2 separate regions of the Homo sapiens genome follow, and region 2 is linked to region 1. The links are contacts of gene promoters, found by promoter capture Hi-C in human tissues and cell types (Jung and others, 2019). All regions are on one chromosome and are shown on one strand. Each heading gives the region's core, a stretch centred on a gene start or on the middle of the fragment in contact. The rest is flanking DNA. Distances are from core to core; before and after follow the strand shown.

Region 1 (4,598 bases), core at 551-3,050:
GGGAGAATCACTTAAACCCGGGAGGTGGAGGCTGCAGTGAGCCGAGATCACCCCACTGCATACCAGCCCAGGCTACAGTGTGAGACTTTGTCTCAAAAAAAATAAATGAAAATAAAAAATAAAAATAAAAAAAATTCAAGATCTGTGCATAAACACAACCTGTGTGTAAGTAATGCTTCCCTACTGGGCTATTTTCCTTTTTTTCTTTTTTGAGAGGGAGTCTCACTGTCGTCCAGGCTGGAGTGCAATGGCGGGATCTCACTCACGGCGACCTCCACCTCCCAGGTTCAAGCGATTCTCCTGCCTCAGCCTCCTGAGCAGCTGGGATTACAGACACCTGCTACCATACCCGGCTAATTTTTGTATTTTAAGTAGTGACGGGGTTTCACCATGTTGGTCAGGCTGGTCTCGAACTCCTAACCTCAAGTGATCTACCCACTTCGGCCTCCCAAAGGGCTAGGATTACAGGCGTGAGCCACCACGCCCGGCTTTTTTTTTTTTTTTTTTTTTTTTTTTTTTTGTGAGACAGTCTCACTCTGTAATCCAGACTGGATTGCAAGGGGCGTGATCTCGGCTCACTGCAATTTCTGCCTCCCGGGTCCAGGTTCAAGCAATTCTCCTGCCTCAGGCTCCCGAGTAGCTGGGATTAAAGGCGTGCGCCACCACACCCAGCTAATTTTTGTATTTTCAGTAGAGACCGGGTTTCACTATGTTGGCCAGGCTGGTCTCGAACTCCTGACCCTGAGTGATCCACCCGCCTTGGCCTCCCCAAAAGCTGGGATTACAGCCCTGAGCCACGGCGCCCGGCCTGTTTTTTTGTTGTTGTTGTTTTGTTTTTAATAAAAGAGGCGGGGTCTCACCCCGTTGCCCAGGTTGGTCCAGAACTCCCGGGCTCAGGCGACCCTCCCCTCTGCGGGCCAGGCCACCGCGCCCGCCGCCTCGGGTGTTTTCTTAGGAAAGCTGTGCGGTGGCTGGACTCAAAAACCCCGAACCTAAATCTGCCCGCAGACGGACACCAGCTTCCTCTTACCTCAAGCAAAAGGGCATTCAGGTCCTGATGGCTTCGCAGGAGGCGCACAGCTGATTCCTTTAATTTCTGTGCCCTTTCAGGATTATATTTTTCCCTCTTGACCCTTCCCGCTACGGAGAGAAGTCGGTTCGAAACCATCACAGCACAATTCACACACGGGGTCCCCGGCCCGACGCGCAGGTGGACGCCGCGGAGAAACCCACCAGCGACACCCTCCCGAAGAGGGGCCGGGGCTCCTCCCCAGGGCGCAGGTCTCGGGAAACTAACGGAGACGGCCCCACCGCGGACGCCGGGGAAGACGGCCCAGGAGGGCCCGAGGCAGGGGAGCCCGGGGACGGCTGGCGAGGGGCGGCCTCTGCGCTGAGGGGAGCCCCAGGCCGCGCACCCCAGGCCCGCCTGACAGGGCGGCCGGCGGGGGCGGCGTTCGGGAAAGAAGGGAGCGCCCCGCGGGCGGCGGCTGGGGGCGTCCGCCCAGGCGCAGGAGGGGCCGGGTCCGAGGCAGCCGCGCCGCCCCAGCCGGGCGCCCACCCCGCACAGCCCCCCGGGCGCGGCGTCCGGGGATCCGACCGGCGGAGGCTCTGGCGGGAAGGGATCGGGGAACCGGCGAAACCGTCCCGGGCCGGACGCCGCCCACTCCCGCGGCCTGCCGCGCCCACCTACCCAGCAGCTCGGCCCAGGCCCTCCGGCGGCCCCCTGGGTCCTGGCCCGAGGCGGAGTTCGGGACCCACGAGTCGGACATGGCCTTGGCGCCTACAGCCCCGGCGGCGGCTCCCTGCGCCCGAGCCCGCGCTGCCTTCCTATTGGCTGCGGCCAGGCGCGCACACCCGTTGGCTGGCGGCGGCCAGGCCACGCCCCTCAGGTCGAGGCCTTGCGTCGTGGCCATGTTGGTCCTGGGGGAGGCGCCTGCGCGCGGTGAGGTAGTTTTTGCGTTTGGCTTTGCCGCCGCGGTGTAGTCCGCGGGGGCGTCTCGCGCGGGCAGACTGCCGCCCCTCAAGCGTGGTTCCTGCCGGGAATGACTGGGGTTGGTCCTGAAGAGACCACCTGGCCAACCAAGCCGAGGCAGGCTCAGAGCGCCGCGGGGAGCGCAAAGCCGCGCGCGCCTCTGAGCTCCGGGCAGCCGCTGTTCCTCCCGGCGGCCGAACGGTCCGCGCGCAGGGCGGTGTTTCGGCAGCCGGAGACCGCGCGGTAGCCGCGCCTGTATTCCCAGCGCTTTGGGAGGCCGAGGCTGGAGGGTCGCTTGAGCCCAGGAATTCCAGACTAGCCTGGGCAACAGAGCGAGACCCCATCACTTTTGTTTCTTTTCTTTTTTTTTTTTTTCCTTTTTTTGAGACGGAGTCTCCCTCTGTCGCCCAGGCTGGAGTGCAGTGGCGCGATCTCGGCTCACTGCAACGTCTGCCTCCTGGGTTCAGGTGATTCTCCTGCCTCAGCCTCCCGAGTAGCTGGGATTGCAGGTGCGCGCCACCACGCCTGGATGATTTTTGTTATTTTTAGTAGAGACAGCGTTTCGCCATGTTGGCCCAGGCTAGTCTCGAACTCCGGACCTCAGGTGATCCGCCCGCCTCGGCCTCCCAAAGTGCTGGGATTACAGGCGTGAGCCACCGCACCCGGCTGAGACCCTATCTTTTAACCAGCCTGGGCGGCAGAGCGAGACTCTGTCTCAAAACAAAACCAAACATAAGAATTCGTAAAAGCGAGTGCCTAGGCGAAGCTAATGTGCCTCAAAGTCCTGGGTAAGTAGAGGCCCTGGAGACCCGTCCGCATCCTCTGGCAGTGGCCTTGGAACCACCGAAGGGATTCAGCCGAAGGGCCGCGTTCCCGGCAGGCGTCTTTATTGTGTTGATTACGTAGATGGCGTAGATGACGTAGATGACGTTCAGCACCACAAACGAAGAGCCGAGGCACAGAGTGGGGCCTTGGATTCATGAGATGGGGATGGAGCAGAAATGAGAATTCGGAGTCCATGAAACCCCCACAAAGACTCCTGCACGGCCCGACTCGGACACTTTGCAATCTGCTGGTTGAGGGGGATGGTGTGAACTCAGGGAACAGCCTGAGATCGCGCCGCTGCACTCCAGCCTGGGCAACAGAGCAAGACCCTGTTTCAAAAACAAAAAATAACACTAAGCAATTAACAGGACTAGACTCAGAGGTGATCGAGAAATTGAAACAGGCTGGAAATTTAAATTAACTGTGATTAATATGTGGAGGTCTCTTGTACGAAAGGTGAACAATATGCATGAGGAGGAAACTCATCAAATTATAAGAAAGGAAGAACGCTGATAACAGGTAATTTTTCTGATGGGGCAGCAGTAGGATCAACACAGCTGAGAAAAATAGGAATTACCCACGTTGGAAAATAAAGAAGAAAAAAAGTTTTTTTTTAAAAAAAGCATCCAAGAACTGTGGGAAAATATCAAATGATATCATATGCATGTAATAGGACTCCCAAAAGAAGAAGAAAGAACAAATCATAAAAAATGTTTGAAGAGAAAATTACCAATAATTTTCCCAAAATAATGAAAGACCTGAGCTCAGAGCACACACAAAACTTGATAAATATGAGCCCCTGCCTGACACATGCAGTGTATTCAAACTGTGGAAATCAGAGAGAAAACCATGAAGATGGCCGGAGGAAAAAGATACGTTAAATACAGTAACAAAGGTAAGAATTCCAGCCTGGGCAATATGGCAAGACCTCGTCTCTACAAAAAATACAAAATTTTTTTTTTGTATTTTTTGTATTGCCCAGTGTGGTGACACGAGCCTGTAGTCCTGTGGGCGGAGAATTACCCAGGTGCCGAGGCAAGAGACCGAAGGCACAAACTATTTCAGTATAATAAAATCGTTACAATAAGAACAGTCATAATACAAATTATGGAGATGATCATGGACAATTATCAATTATTATAAACATTAATCATTAGCTTTTAATATTACTGTTTGTTGCATTACTAATATAACCTAGGAATAACCGGTGGGTATAGGGTCAGGTGCTGAAAGGACATTGTGAGAAGTGAGTGGAAGGCAAGAGGTGAACCTTCTGTCATGCCCGCATAAGGGCCGCTTGAGGGCTCCTTGGTCAAGCGGTAACGCCAGTGTCTGGGAAGGCACCCGTTACTTAGCAGACCATGAAAGGGAGTCTCCTTTGCTTGGAGGAGTCAGGGAACACTCTGCTCCACCAGCTTCTTGTGGGAGGCTGGATGTTATCCAGGCCTGCACGCAGTCATCCGGAGGCCTAAACCCCTCCCTGTGGTGCTTCACTGGTCACGCTCCTTGTCCACTTTCATGTTCCTCCCTTACTTCTGGTTCGTCTTTGAAGTTCGTAGTAGATAGCGGTAGAAGAAATAGTGAAAGTCTTAAAGTCTTTGATCTTTCTTATAAGTGCAGAGAAGAAAATGCTGACGTATGCTGCCTTCTTTCTCTGCTTCACCTACCTGAAAGGGAAGGGCCCCCATCCTGTAATCACGTGACATGCTTCACCTTGTCAATCACTTAGAAGATTCACCTTCCTTACGCTGCCCCCTTGTCATGTATGCAATAGATATCAAAGAGCCTAGCCGTTCGGGGC
Region 2 (4,598 bases), core at 1,314-3,813, 200 kb before region 1:
CACCACGTCTGGCTAAATTTTGCATTTTTAGTAGAGATGGGGTTTCACCACGTTGCCCAGGCTGGTTTCAAACTCCCGACTTCAAGTGATCCGCCCACCTCGGCCTCCCAAAGTGCTGGGATCACAGGCATGAGCCACCGTGCCTGGATAACTGTACTTATATTTTTATAGAAGCTTTATTGAGACAATTCACACACCATAAAATCCATCCCTTTAGTGTGCACAATTGAATGTTTTTAGAATATTCAGAGTCGCACAGCCATCACTACTATTTAATTCCAGATTTTTAATTTAAAAATTTTCATTGCCCTCGCAGGGCACAGGGGCTCACGCCTGTAATCCCAGCACTTTGGTGTTGTAACCAAGCGAGTTATAGAGAAACACCACACTTTGAGACAAATTAAGGAGTCCTTTATTAGCCTGCGACCGAGAGGCCGCTAATGCTCAAAATTCTCTCGGCCCTGAGGAAGGGGCTAGCTTTGTTTGTATACCGTGGTCTAAATGGGGGGGGGGAGTTTAACTGAAGCAATTTTTATAGAAGCAGAACTGGCAAAAAGTTAAAAAATTAATTGGTTACAAATGCAGTTACAAAAAATAAACAGCTCCAGGTGCAGGGGCTTAAACTATCACAAAGAGATAAATGCAGGGGCTTCGGGTGCCATCCACCGAGCGCGTCCCGAGGAGCTGCTGGTGCAGCTTGCCTCAGTATCTTATCAGTAGGTGCATTCCCAGACGTGCTTTGAGTCAGTCACACTAGTTAAGCCTTAAGGGAGGGAGGTGAAGGGGGCTGCAGGTGAAGAAACTAAAATGGAGTCTGTCCGGCGCTCTCTCTGCTACGAGAAGGTCACTTAGGTTAAAACAAGGTTGGGTATCACACTGGGAGGCCGAGGCGGGCGGATCACGAGGTCAGGAGATCGAGACCATCCTGGCTAACACGGTGAAACCCCGTCTCTACTAAAAAAGAAATACAAAAAATTAGCCGGGCGTGGTGGCGGGCGCCTGTAGTCCCAGCTACTCGGGAGGCTGAGGCAGGAGAATGGCGTGAAGCCAGGAGGTGGAGGTTGCAGCGAGCTGAGATCGCGCCACTGCACTCCAGCCTGGGCGACAGAGCAAGACTCTGTCTCAAAAAAAAAAAAAAAAAAGTCATTGCCCCAAATAGAAACCCATTCCCATTAGCACCCACTCCCCACTTTCCTTCACAGCCTCAACAACCATGAATCCACCTTCTGTGTCTATGGAGTCACTTATTCTGGACATTTCATATAAGTGGAATCACACGACATGTGGTCTTTTGAGTCTAGCTTCTTTCTTTCTTTTCTGAGACAGGCTCCCACTCTGCGGCCCAGGCTGAAGTGCAATGGCGTGATCGCAGCTCACTGTAACCTCAGTCTCCCAGGCTCAGGCGCTCCTCCTGCCTCAGCCTCACAGCAGAGACCACAGGTGCGCACCACCACACCCGACTATCTGGCTTCTGCCACTTAGCGAAATGTTTCTGAGGTTCTTCATGTTATAGCACGTGTCAGCACGTCACTCTTCTTCATGGCTGAGTAATACTCCACTGCGTGAAGAGACACATTTATCTGTCCCCGTGTTGGGCATCTGCACTCTTCCCACATTTTGGCTATACTAAATTGTCCTGCTACGAACACCTGTGTAGTTTCTGTGTAAAGGTACAGTACCTATATGTTGGGGTGATCAGACCCAACCCCAGGTCGTGGGGGTGACAAAGTCCGGCGGAGTCAAAGGATTCAGAAAAACACAGAGAGAGAAAGGTGGCACACCAGGGGGCCATCGCTATTGTGGAGGCTGCAAAAGCCCGAGCTCTGGGAGCCCACGGTATTTATTGGTAATGCAACAAAGAAACAGATGGTGAGAATATGGAGGTCAAAAGACCACGTTGCATTAAGCACATGATTACAGCTGTGCCGGTTTAGCATTTATATGGAGCATGTTCTGCTACTTGAGATAATGGGAATAGGGGCCTAGGAGGGCTAGAAGGAAGGAGCCAGCAAGTCTAGACACATTCCAAAGGACATCATGCAAGCCCTGCCTCAGTTTCCCTCCCAACACCTATATGTCTTGTTGGTATACATGTTGTATTTTCACAACGAAAATGCATGAGAAAAAGGACACAGATGGCTTATGTGTACTGATGTGTAGCATTCTCTAAGATCTGACATCACAGAGCTGGACAGCACAGCTGTGCACGCACCCCCCTGGCTGGGAGGTGGCACATCCACACATGAGGGAAAAACACTGCCAGGACATCTCAGGGCACTCTCAGGAAATGAGGAAGCTGCTGGAGAAGTTTCTAGCCTTGGGGGAGGTCAGGACGCAGAGCCATCTCCTGGAGCAAAGTTCCCTCCTCCTCTCTCCCTCCTCCTCTCTCCCTCCTGCAGCCCTTCCTTCCGACCCCTGGCCCTTTCTCTCCAACCTTCCCCTCCCCTCCTCCATTTCCCTCCTCTTTCTACTTTCAGAGAACACAGGGTTCCTGCAGGAAATGGGGCAGTTTCACCTTCCTGAGGAGGGGCCTGGGAGGGGCAGCAGGTGGCCGGGTAGGGCCAGCCCAGCTGTGAGCCTGGCGTGGGAGCTGCCTAGGCCGGGCCCTGCCAGGGAGCAAGTCTGCATCGCAGAGGCCAGGGTGAGTGGGCTGGGGAGTCGGTGCGCCAGGGTACTGGGGTGCCCACCTGGGGTGGTGCAGGCCCGGGGACCCCAGGGCACCACTGTGGGTGGAAGCTGGGACCAGGCGTGCGGGGCAGGGGACGCGGCGGCTTCCTGGGATTCTAGGAGGCTGAGGCCAGGTGTGTGCGGCAGGGGACGGGGCGGCTTCCTGGGATTCTAGGAGGCTGGGACCAGGTGTGTGGGGCAGGGGACGAGGCAGCTTCCTGGGATTCTAGGAGGCTGGCACCAGGTGTGTGGGGCAGGGGACGCGGCTGCTTCCTGGGATTCTAGGAAACTGGGGCCAGGTGTGTGGGGCAGGGGACGCGGCTGCTTCCTGGGATTCTAGGAAACTGGGGCCAGGTGTGTGGGGCAGGGGACGCGGCGGCTTCCTGGGACTCAAGGAGGTGGGAGAGCTGCTCTCAGACCCGCCGCTGTCCTCCCACTGGCCCTCCCCGTGGTCCCTAGGATGAGGTCTGGACCCGCCAGGCCCTCCAGAGGCCCCACAACCCCGCTTGTCCACTGTGCCGGCTGTTCCTTCCTTGTGGCGCCCAGTGCGGTCCTAGGCACCCTTGGGACTCAGCTCACGTACCCCTTCCTCCAGGAAGAGTTCTCAGAGGCTGTGTGAGGAGCGCCGAGTCCCCGGACTTACTCTCTGTTCTGGAATTCTCTGCGCAGTCATCTGCCTTCCCGCCCAGCTAAGAGCAGGGCCTGTTGTCCGGCCCCACAATTTCCTTCCAGGTGGAAAGGATTTGCTGAATGAAAATCAAAGCTGTGGCCGGGCGCGGTGGCTCACGCCTGTAATCCCCACACTGTGGGAGGCCGAGGTGGGCAGATCATGAGGTCAGGAGATCGAGACCATCCTGGCTAACACGGTGAAACCCCGTCTCTAATAAAAAATACAAAAAATTAGCCGGGCGTGGTGGCGGGCGCCTGTAGTCCCAGCTACTCGGGAGGCTGAAGCAGGAGAATGGCGTGAACCCGGGAGGCGGAGGTTGCGGTGAGCTGAGATCGTGCCACTGCACTCCAGCCTGAGTGACAGAGCGAGACTCCGTATCCAAAAAAATAAAAGAAAAATCTTCTCCCCGGGTAGGGTGCGGGGAGCTTCAGGGTTATCACAGGACATGCTAGAGAGAAAGCCTTGGGCACAGGCGGAAGTTGGAGTCTGGAGCTGCGGCTGGGCTAGCGAAGGGCAGAACCTACTTCGGCCAATGGCTCTTACACAGCCAAGCTATTTTCATGGTGAGGGTCTAGTAGCCTCCACATCTCTTGGCGAATTCTTGCTGATTGGCGTCTGACCCCATGGAGAAGCTCAGTGGGTGTCATGGGTGGAAGGGGGCATCTAGGGCCTCCAAACGTGGAAGTGTCTCTAAAATACCTCCCGCTGGGCCTCAGTCTCCTTGTCGACAAAAGGTCAGCTTTGACAAATCTCCAGTCGGAGGCCAGGAGCAGACGGGGAGGGTCCCTCAGTCCCTGCTTGCAGCTTCAGGGGGACGTAGGCTGCGGTGGACGGACACTGAGCCCCAAAGCGGCCTCTCAGAGCCGCCCCTGAGGGGTGGCCTCACAGGTCGGGCTGAGGCTCCCAGCTCCCACTGGGTACAGAGCGGGCAGGCGGGCCTGGCAGGGCAGTGGTGCTGGTCTACACGCAGCTCTGGAGTCTCTGGACCTGTGTCCTGTGCGTACATCCTGGCTCCATCTCCCATGAGCCAGGGGGCTGGACCTGTCTTCTCTACCTCAGTTTCCAAGAGTAGGAGACAGGGGTAACAGCAGCCTTGCTCTCAGGGGTGAGGGCGTGGGTTAAAGGGCAGGACACCCATGGAAGCAGTGGTGGCTCCGAGCACCTGCTCAGCCTTCCCAGGTCTTCAGAGCCCACAGGCAGAGCCCACCCTGAGGGAGGAGCAGCTGGTTCTTGGGTGAAGTGAGCCCCCAGGACCCCGCCT

The links. The method cuts DNA at HindIII sites, captures the fragments that hold promoters and counts their contacts. A contact is called where the count stands out against the background at its distance.
Region 2: a contact is called between the fragment with the promoter of DPEP1 here and the fragment with the promoter of FANCA in region 1, in 2 of the 25 tissues and cell types used here (aorta and bladder).

What each region holds. Positions count from the first base shown.
Region 1 is chr16:89,814,847-89,819,444 of GRCh38, forward strand. It overlaps FANCA (FA complementation group A), which reads right to left and starts at 1,801. Exons shown (of 43, transcript NM_000135.4): 1 at 1,691-1,801; 2 at 1,031-1,140. The coding sequence starts at 1,769. RefSeq lists silencers at 1,305-1,354, 1,585-1,874 and enhancers at 1,735-2,029, 2,415-2,464. The HindIII fragment of the contact is 15,845 bases long and covers 1-4,598 here.
Region 2 is chr16:89,611,079-89,615,676 of GRCh38, forward strand. It overlaps DPEP1 (dipeptidase 1), which reads left to right and starts at 2,564. Exons shown (of 11, transcript NM_001389466.1): 1 at 2,564-2,641. RefSeq lists a silencer at 2,164-2,322 and enhancers at 3,728-4,432, 4,433-4,598. The HindIII fragment of the contact is 39,869 bases long and covers 1-4,598 here.